Regions from separate parts of the Homo sapiens genome. Here region 1 is linked to region 2. The links are contacts of gene promoters, found by promoter capture Hi-C in blood cells and fetal thymus (Javierre and others, 2016). All regions are on one chromosome and are shown on one strand. The core of a region is centred on a gene start or on the middle of the fragment in contact, and the rest is flanking DNA. Distances in the headings are between cores, read along the strand shown. Region 1 holds the start of ROCK1 (Rho associated coiled-coil containing protein kinase 1). Region 2 holds the start of PIK3C3 (phosphatidylinositol 3-kinase catalytic subunit type 3).

Region 1 (4,667 bases), core at 2,146-4,645, about 21 Mb after region 2:
TCTCAGCTCACTACAACCTCTGCCTTCCAGGCTCAAGTAATTCTCCCACCTCAGCCTGCTCGGTAGCTGGGACTACAGGTGCCACCATGCCTGGTTAATTTTTGTATTCTTTTGTAGAGATAGGATTTCACCATGTTGCCCAGGCTGGTCTCCAACTCTTGAGCTCAAGTAATCTGCCTGCCTTGGCCTCCCAAAGTGCTGGTATTACAGGTGTGAGCCACCACACCCACCCTTCAAGACCCTCTTCATTCAACCTGCTAAAATCATTTCACATCTTTACCTAAGGACTGTAATCAGACTGATGATATTGCAAATTCTATAACTCCCTCATTTACATGGAATCATTTAAATCTGTGCTAATGTAAATAATCCAATTGTTAAATACTTGTCACTGTATTAGGACTAGATAGTGTTAACATAGTCATAGTTATGAATGGGGGAGTTCTGTAGTTAGATTGTCTCTGTTCCAATCAGGGTCTGAGCAAATATTAACAACATTTCTCTCTGCACTTCAGTTTCCCCATCTGTGGCATAGTTTTAAAGAGATTATGTATAAAGTGTATGGAGTAGTACCTAGCACATGGTGAGCACTCAGTATGTTTGTTATATTATTATTATATTTATACATGGTATCAGTATTTTGCACTTGCATGTAGGATTTTAACATACTTTATATTTTAAGGGTGATCTCAAATATCCACAATACTTTGGAAGAGATTAGTCACAATTAGACGATAGAATTTTAAGGTTGGAAGGGAACTTTATTTTATTTTTATTTATTTATTTTTTTGACACAGAGTCTCGATCTGTCACCCAGGCTGGAGTGTAGTGGCGCCATCTCGGCTCACTGCAACCTCCGCCTCCCGGGTTCAAGCAATTCTCCTGCCTCAGCCTCCAGAGTAGCTGGGATTACAGGTGCCTGCCACCATGCCCAGCTAATGGAAGGGAATTTTTAATATAATATGATTCCACCCTATTAAAGGTGAGGACCTCTTTATTAAAAAAAGTTGGCCTGGCGCGGTGGCTCACGCCTGTAGTCCCAGCACTTTGGGAGGCCGAAGAGGGTGGATCACGAGGTCAGGAGTTCGAGACCAGCCTGGCCAACATGGTGAAACCCCATCTCTACTAAAAATATAAAAATAGGCCAGGGCAGTGGCTCACGCCTGTAATCCCAACATTTCCGGAGGCCAAGGTGGGCGGATCACCTGAGGTCGGGAGTTCAAGACCATCCTGACCAACATGGAGAAACCCCATCTCGACTAAAAATACAAAATTAGCTGGGCATGGTGGAGCATGCCTGTAATCCCAGCTATTCGGGAGGCAGGAGAATCACTTGAATCCAGAAGGTGGAGGTTGCGGTGAGCCGCGATCGCGACATTGCACACCAGCCTGAGCAACAAGAGTGAAACTCCATCTCAAAACAAAATAAAACAAACAAAACACCAAAAATTAGCTGGGCGTGGTGGCGTGTGCCTGTAATCCCAGCTACTCCGGAGGCTGAGGCGGGAGAATCGCTTGAACCCGGGAGGCAGAGGTTGCAGTGAGCCGAGATCGTGCCACTGCACTCCAGACTGGTAGACAAGAGTGAAACTCCGCCTCGGAGAAAAAAAAAAAAGTTAATTTAGAGTCCATCTATCTTATGGCAGAAGATAACTAGATTTAGAGTCCATCTATCTTATGGCAGAAGATAACTAGTGATGTGTCACAATAATCAGAAGAGCCTTGTAGGTAAGTAAGCTATATATGGACCCCACCTATATTTCTAGTAGATATTTCTAGAAATATATGGACCCCACATATATTTCTAGTAGTTCTGCCAGGTTGGTTATCACTTCCACTTATATTTATCAGTGTCACTCATGTATTGTCTTAACTACTTGTATTTTTTCGTATGTGTCTAAATGGAAAGCAACATAATGTTCACGGTTCTCTGAGAAACAACAAAATTCCTAATACCTAAAAATGGTAATAATAATAAAAAAAAGACAAGCAGGGTTTAGGAAATTTATTTTAGGGCAACTGCCTGATTTATTTTAAGCCCTATGCTTAAAAATAAGTCTAATTCACATGACTTAAAATGCTGGAGCCAAGAAAAGTCGCTGCAAAGGCATTTAATGAAATACCTGGTTTGTCTAGTTGTCTTTGTTATGATTTTTGTATAAACCAAGAACGTCCTATCTTGATATATATAGTGGATTTTATATCTAAATATTTCTTGTATTTAATAAATTGAAAATAGAAATAGACATTTTTTCAAACAGTGTAAGATTTTCCTAACCTCTGACTCACATCGTAAGGCTGGTGGACTGTTCAGATGCTGTACGATGCTTTTTACTCCGATGCTTTTTGGTTCATCTGTAGCATTTTCCATCATGGGGTAAAAGATCCACATTTTCTATTTCTAGTGATCCTTAATTTGGCTTCTGAGCAAAAATAAAGTTTGATGAGGAATAAATTAAGGTAGATTTCCTGCTGAAACCAGTGAAGAACATAACTTTATCAGCGGGGGTGAGTGACAAGTCTTTCACCTTTCCTCACACCACAGTCAACGAAGTAACGGAACTAGGAGAAATGCCCATTATTCTCATGTCCTACATTAGTTCTGATAAAAATCACAATTAAGTTTCACTGAATGTTTTGACATTGAAACGGCAGCATTACACGTCCAGGAGAGAACTACAGTAGGGGTGTTATGAGAACTAACACGAACGACTTAAAAATATTGATTTTTTTCTACGAGATTATTTTCCTTTAAAAAAATTAAATTGAGCTTGACTTCTATTGACTGTATCTTCCGGAGTCAGTATTTTATGGCTCCCCTGACACACACGCCTGGCGTGGGAGGGCTGAGCGCTGCAGCGCTTCGGAACTTTCCCAGTGAATCGTAAATGGGTTCAACGCCGGGGCTCGCGGAGGGCTGTCCATGGAGTACCACTGAAAACCAAACGCCACTGGTGCTCAATGCTGGTACCTGCCGACGAAAAGGCTTCTTGCCTAAAAAAGAACCTATTGCCCCACCCTAACAGCAACAAGGAGAACAAGCACTCTCTCCTCGTCAGAAGTCTCTGGACTGGCTGCAACCCAGAGGAAACAGAGCTGGGGCATCTGCCGGGACAGCGATCAGAAGCAGCCAGAGCTCCGCCTCCGTCCGGACCTCCAAGGCCGCTCCAGAGCCCTGCATGGCTCCTCAGAGCCGGCCAAGGCGAGAACCTTGCCGGCAGCTGCTTACCCGCACTCGGCTCCTCCCAGCGGTCCGCCTTCTCCACCGCCTGCCCGCAAGGCCCCGCCCACCTCACCGCCCCGCCCCACCCCACCCTGCGGAGGCGACAGAGTGCGCGCGCGCGCGCGGGGTCCCGGCTGGTTCCCCTTCCGAGCGTCCGCGCCCCGCATGCGCAGTCTGCCCCGGCGGTCTCCGTTTGTTTGAACAGGAAGGCGGACATATTAGTCCCTCTCAGCCCCCCTCGCCCCACCCCCCAGGCATTCGCCGCCGCGACTCGCCCTTTCCCCGGCTGGGACCGCAGCCCCTCCCAGAAGCTCCCCCATCAGCAGCCGCCGGGACCCAACTATCGTCTTCCTCTTCGCCCGCTCTCCAGCCTTTCCTCTGCTAAGTCTCCATCGGGCATCGACCTCGCCCTGCCCCACCGGACACCGTAGCAGCAGCCCCAGCAGCGACGGGACAAAATGGGAGAGTGAGGCTGTCCTGCGTGGACCAGCTCGTGGCCGAGACTGATCGGTGCGTCGGGCCGGGCCGAGTAGAGCCGGGGACGCGGGGCTAGACCGTCTACAGCGCCTCTGAGCGGAGCGGGCCCGGCCCGTGGCCCGAGCGGCGGCCGCAGCTGGCACAGCTCCTCACCCGCCCTTTGCTTTCGCCTTTCCTCTTCTCCCTCCCTTGTTGCCCGGAGGGAGTCTCCACCCTGCTTCTCTTTCTCTACCCGCTCCTGCCCATCTCGGGACGGGGACCCCTCCATGGCGACGGCGGCCGGGGCCCGCTAGACTGAAGCACCTCGCCGGAGCGACGAGGCTGGTGGCGACGGCGCTGTCGGCTGTCGTGAGGGGCTGCCGGGTGGGATGCGACTTTGGGCGTCCGAGCGGCTGTGGGTCGCTGTTGCCCCCGGCCCGGGGTCTGGAGAGCGGAGGTCCCCTCAGTGAGGGGAAGACGGGGGAACCGGGCGCACCTGGTGACCCTGAGGTTCCGGCTCCTCCGCCCCGCGGCTGCGAACCCACCGCGGAGGAAGTTGGTTGAAATTGCTTTCCGCTGCTGGTGCTGGTAAGAGGGCATTGTCACAGCAGCAGCAACATGTCGACTGGGGACAGTTTTGAGACTCGATTTGAAAAAATGGACAACCTGCTGCGGGATCCCAAATCGGAAGTGAATTCGGATTGTTTGCTGGTGAGTAGCGCTGTTCTCTTTTGCTTGTCTGGGGTTTTGCATGTCTTTCCTTCCTCTTGCATTAGTCTGGTTCGCTGCAAAAGTCTCAGGTGTGCATAATCGTCTTGGAAAATGCTAGATTTCTGTTTCCTGAAGAATCTTGGAGTACCATTAACATCTCATGGTGTGGTCCTATTTGCCATTTGACTGGCTCTGTACTAACTACTCTGAACTTTTAATTCTGACTCAGTTCATGAGTACCCGAAAGATACTTACAAACTGCTATTGCAGGCATCCT
Region 2 (4,886 bases), core at 194-2,693:
CCCCAGATAGATGTCTGAAATGATCCTGAACAATGCATGAGAGTTGAAGCAAAAGAAGCAGAACGTCATCCCAAAGGGAAAGGAGACAGAGTGAGACCCTGTCTCCAAAAAAAAAAAAAAAAAAAAAAGGGACCGGTTTTTTTGGCTTTTTCTTTATTTTTAATGTTCAAACATTTCAAAAAATGCATTCATATATCCAAGAAATACTGAGCATCAAGCTGAAGGAAAGCCCTTTATCAATATTGATCCTGTATAAACTACTAGTGGTGTATGCTATGGAAAATACCTTAAATGAGTGTATAAAGTATCATACAAAGGTACAAGGTGGTTGTTGACATATTACTTTTACCACCACCACCACAAACTAAAAAGTAAAGTATTTGTCAGCGAATAAGGGACTTCTGAAAATAAAATGAAATGATCATTCAAAGGTACATCAGACAACTGAGAAAATTTATCTATCACTTACTGCAGGCCTTTGACCGACACATATTTGTTGAATATTAATTGAACATACACAAGAAATGTTTATTAATTATGGATGATGCTATGGTCAATAATTTGTGATAGCTTTGACAACACTCCTACATGACCACCTTAAAAGGGACATAATTTCCAACTCTGTCTTGTGCATCCCTCGTCATTATACCAGTTCTATTATCCTCATCTCAAGATATCACGCCCTTGACCTTTACTTCAGCCGTGGTGCCCCAACGTTTTCCTGCAAAGACTCTTTTCTCCTATCTTCTTGGTACCTTTGAAACTGGAACCCTCATCTTCGACTTACTCCCAACTTCCCTGACTAAACACTGCCATACTACCCAAAGATTCACTCTAGGCCTCTATCACCTCCCGTGCTAATACACCATGTGCTCATCTTATTCTCAACTATCGCATCTGCCTGTGTCTACCTCTCCATAATTTCTGAAGCCTTCATTCCACCCTACAAGCCCCGTTCCAAAATAAAGATCGTCCTCTTACTTACGACGAGACTTGATTTCTTAATTTACAATGAAATAGTAATAAACTCTCAAAAGGCTGAACAGCAAAAACTTTAAAGACTGTAAAATACAGCGGAACTTAAGGGCTATTCCTACTGCTGTGCTTCTCACGGAGACCACGTATTAAATCCTTTTCCAAAAGAGCCCCTCTCCACGATCCACTCTCTCGCGCCTCCCTGGCTACAGCCCTCACAGCCGCCCCCAATCTGGGCCTTGAGACGAGTCACGTACTTTCTGCCTCTCACTCCCAACAGGCCCCTGCCCCCACGTCCCTACGCCCCAGCAATCCCACTCCCTGTCCCGAGTGTTCTCTTACATCTTAAGCTGGACGTTGATATCCAGGTCACAACTATAGATGTAGTGAAACTTCTCTGCTTCCCCCATCGCACCGTCTGCAAAGGTACCACCTACAGCGGGAACTTAGGTACAGGAAAAACAACATAAATGAACCAGCTGAGCCCCACAACACGGAACTTCCGGTTCCGCCCCCGCCAGCAAGCCGCCAATCCACGCCCGGAGCGAGTTCCGACGCGGCGGAACTCCCCGCCGAAACAACCCTTCCGCGCATGTGCACAAGGCGCCCACCATCTTGCTTAAGGGCAAATGTATACGGGAAACGGCTAATCTGGTTACATTCCAGTTTTCCTGTCTTGACAGCACTTTTTTTTTTTTTTAAAGAAAAAGAGACGCTATCATTTGAGCTTGAGCTGTACCTAAAACAATACGAAAGAAAATTCAATTCAAAAAGAATTATAACAGCTTTCACTGGCTGCCGGCTAAACAGGTTACAAGCACAAAAATTGGAATTTTGCCAGGTTTAAATTCCAGTGGCCTTCCCAAAAAGTGTAGCACTAATTTGCTATCTCAAGCAAGGATTTTCTCTTTCTGCTCTAAAGAGTAGGGAAAGGACTAAATAGAGAATAAATAAATCTGGGTTTCATGTTTGGTGTTGTCAGTATTCATGCTACTTTGGACATAATACTTGCGTGCATGTTTAAACTGGGAATATTCAAATTCAATGTAGTTTCAAGCCCTAACCCAAGTTAGAATCTAGAGGCCTCCTGTAATAACTACAGAACACAGATCTCTAAACCCTCTGAGCTCCTATAATGTTTGTTTTTATAATTATTATAATCTAAAATTGTAATACTCCCTTCCAATTAGATTGAAAACTCTTGGAAGGTAAGACCAGTGTGCCATTTACTTCCGTGTCTTGCCCCGCTAGCTGTCTAATGCATTGCTGAGTTTAATACTTCCTACTTACTGGTTATTAATGATGATATTGAATGAAAGTCTCCATTTTCTATGCCTTTATTTCTTTTTTTTTTTTTTTTTTGAGATGGAGTTTTGCTATTGTCGCCCAGGCTGGCACCATCTCGGCTCACTGCAACCTCCATCTCCTGGGTTCAAGCGATTCTCCTGCATCAGCCTCCCAAGTAGCTGGGATTACAGGCACCCGCCACCCAGTCAGGCTAATTTTTGTATTTTTAATAGAGATGGGGTTTCACCATGTTGGCCAGTCGGGTCTCAAACTCCTAACCTCCAGTGATCTGCCTGCCCTGGCCTCCCAAACTGCTATGTCATTTCTTTTTTTTTTTTTTTTTTTTTTTTTGAGACAGAGTCGCTCTGTTGCCCAGGCTGGAGTGCCCGTCTCTCTGTTGCCCAGGCTGGAGTGCAGTGGCGCGATCTCGGCTCACTGCAAGCTTCACCTCCCAGGTTCATGCCATTCTCCTGCCTCAGCCCCCCAAGTAGCTGGGACTTCAGGTGCCCGCCGTCACGCGCGGCTAATTTTTTGTATTTTTTAGTAGAGTCAGGGTTTCACCGTGTTAGCCAGGATGGTCTCGATTTCCTGACCTCGTGATCCGCCCTCCTCGGCCTCCCAAAGTGCTGGGATTACAGGCGTGAGCCACCTCGCCCAGCCTATGTCTTTATTTCTAAGTGCTGCATTTTAAGACGGACATCACTAAAGTATGTGCAAAATGGCGTAATTAGAATGTTGAGGGATTAGAAAAAAAATATTTCCAAGAAAGGGTGAAAGGTGTGGAGCTGTTTAACCTGGAAAAGGAAAAAAAATGGCTAATGCAGAATGTTTTACACAAAATAAGTTCTCAAAAATATTTATGGAGGCAAGAAAAGGATTTGGGTAGAATAAAGAAAAACATGATAGTTATCCTCCTATAACTTAAAGTTTAAACAAAAAGAGCACCTTTGATTTGTTCCTAAGAATAACTGCCACCAATGGTTGGAACTTACAGGAAATGTAATTTCAACAAACAATACAAATTGAACTTTCTAATTATCACAGCCATTCAACAGTAACACTGTTGTCACAAGTACTCTGTTTAAGGCATAACTCCAGCAATGAGTGTGAGGTTTGATGTGAAACCTCAATCTTGAATAAAATATTGACAATGTGTAAAGGAGTAAATTATCTGATCCCAGTGGTGAATAAATTACTTTCATTATGTAATGGTATTTAATGTATAAACCTAAGATAATATTATATACATATACAACCAAACAAATTTACAAATTAAATATAAAAACTTCAAATTAACAATCTTAATATAATAGTGGGATTTTTTACGGAAACTGTTGTTTGCAAAATGATTATGGAATATAGTGTTGGCTACTCTTACAGGACTGATTCTTTGAAATTCAGCACGTCTATACTGCTATATTCCACAGGGCAATTCATTTTTCTAGACTCTTTTTCTCTATTCAAATAACTATGAACTCTTCATGAGTGTAACCACCATGATGTATTCTGGCTTTATCTTGCCTACAACACATCTTTTTGTTTTAAGCCTGACTTTGTCCTTTTCTCATTAGCTCATAACAATTAAAGTAATACTGATTGTTTCCAAAACAGTTGCAAACACAACACAGATAAAAGCATGAAAATCAAATGTCAGTACTTAGTTATAAGATATTCATTCACAGAACCCAAAATAGATTTAACTTTTTAAAGATTATCAAGAGAAAAAAATAACATTAAAAATGTATTATAGAGGGATCTCAGAAAACTTGACTGTAGTTGTATTAAATATGTTAATACATCAAGGAAAACTAATGTGCCAATAAGGAGCAAGATTTTGGTAAGTCATGGAAGCATGGAAAGAATTATTATAGAAACCAAAACTCTCAGTGCCTTTTGTACTGTAAGTCAGGGAAGTGTTGGTTGGTAGACTTGAGTATCAGAATTCAATTAACAAGGCCATCTCTATAAGAGAAAAGGAAGCCTTAAGCATCTTATTTTGAAAGGAGAGGAATGATTTTTTCCTTCCCATGTGATTTTCATGAATCATGAATATAACATACGCTCATAATTATGGGATACAATTTGCATTGCAAGAGTCCACGGTGGCCTGTCTGCAGAAAAATAACTTACAGAAATAGGTGTTTTCTTGGTGTGGTAGGCTCTTCCAATGATTATTATATGATCCCATATTTAATTTTCCCTTGGAGTTGCAGTTTTGGCTTTGTGCTTCTTTTGCCACCTTGTTTCAATTTCTATTTTAATTATTCTAGTAACCAGTTTTAATGATGGCTTAGAAATGTGTTGATTGTGCCCCATTTCTTCCTTCCTTCCTTTCTTTCCTTCCCTTCCTTCCTTCCTTCCCCCTTCCCTTCCCTTCCCTTCCCTTCCCCTCCCTTCCCTTCCTTTCCTTTTTCCTGAATCGAAGTTTTGCTCTGTTGCCCAGGCTGGAGTGCAGTGGTGCAATCACAGCTTACTGCAGCCTCAACCTCCTGGGCTCCAGCAATCCTCCCACCTTAGCCTCCTGAACAGCTGGGATTACAGGCACGCACCACCATGCCTGGCTACTTTTTAAATTTTTTTTGTAGAGATAGGGGCTTACTGTGTTGCCCAGGCTGATCTCGAAC

Evidence for each region. Contacts are between HindIII fragments. The CHiCAGO score rates a contact against its expected background, and 5 or more counts as called.
Region 1: a contact is called between the fragment with the promoter of ROCK1 here and the fragment with the promoter of PIK3C3 in region 2, in 1 of 17 cell types (neutrophils). The highest score is 6.7, in neutrophils.

The regions. Positions count from the first base shown.
Region 1 is chr18:21,110,541-21,115,207 of GRCh38, reverse strand. It overlaps ROCK1 (Rho associated coiled-coil containing protein kinase 1), which reads left to right and starts at 3,395. Exons shown (of 33, transcript NM_005406.3): 1 at 3,395-4,390. The coding sequence starts at 4,298. RefSeq lists enhancers at 2,797-2,856, 2,887-3,106, 3,206-3,500, 3,154-3,742 and a silencer at 3,147-3,536. The HindIII fragment of the contact is 6,843 bases long and covers 1-4,667 here.
Region 2 is chr18:41,951,791-41,956,676 of GRCh38, reverse strand. PIK3C3 (phosphatidylinositol 3-kinase catalytic subunit type 3) reads right to left here and starts at 1,443. Exons shown (of 25, transcript NM_002647.4): 1 at 1,318-1,443. The coding sequence starts at 1,385. RefSeq lists an enhancer at 1,486-1,665. The HindIII fragment of the contact is 3,603 bases long and covers 1-2,706 here.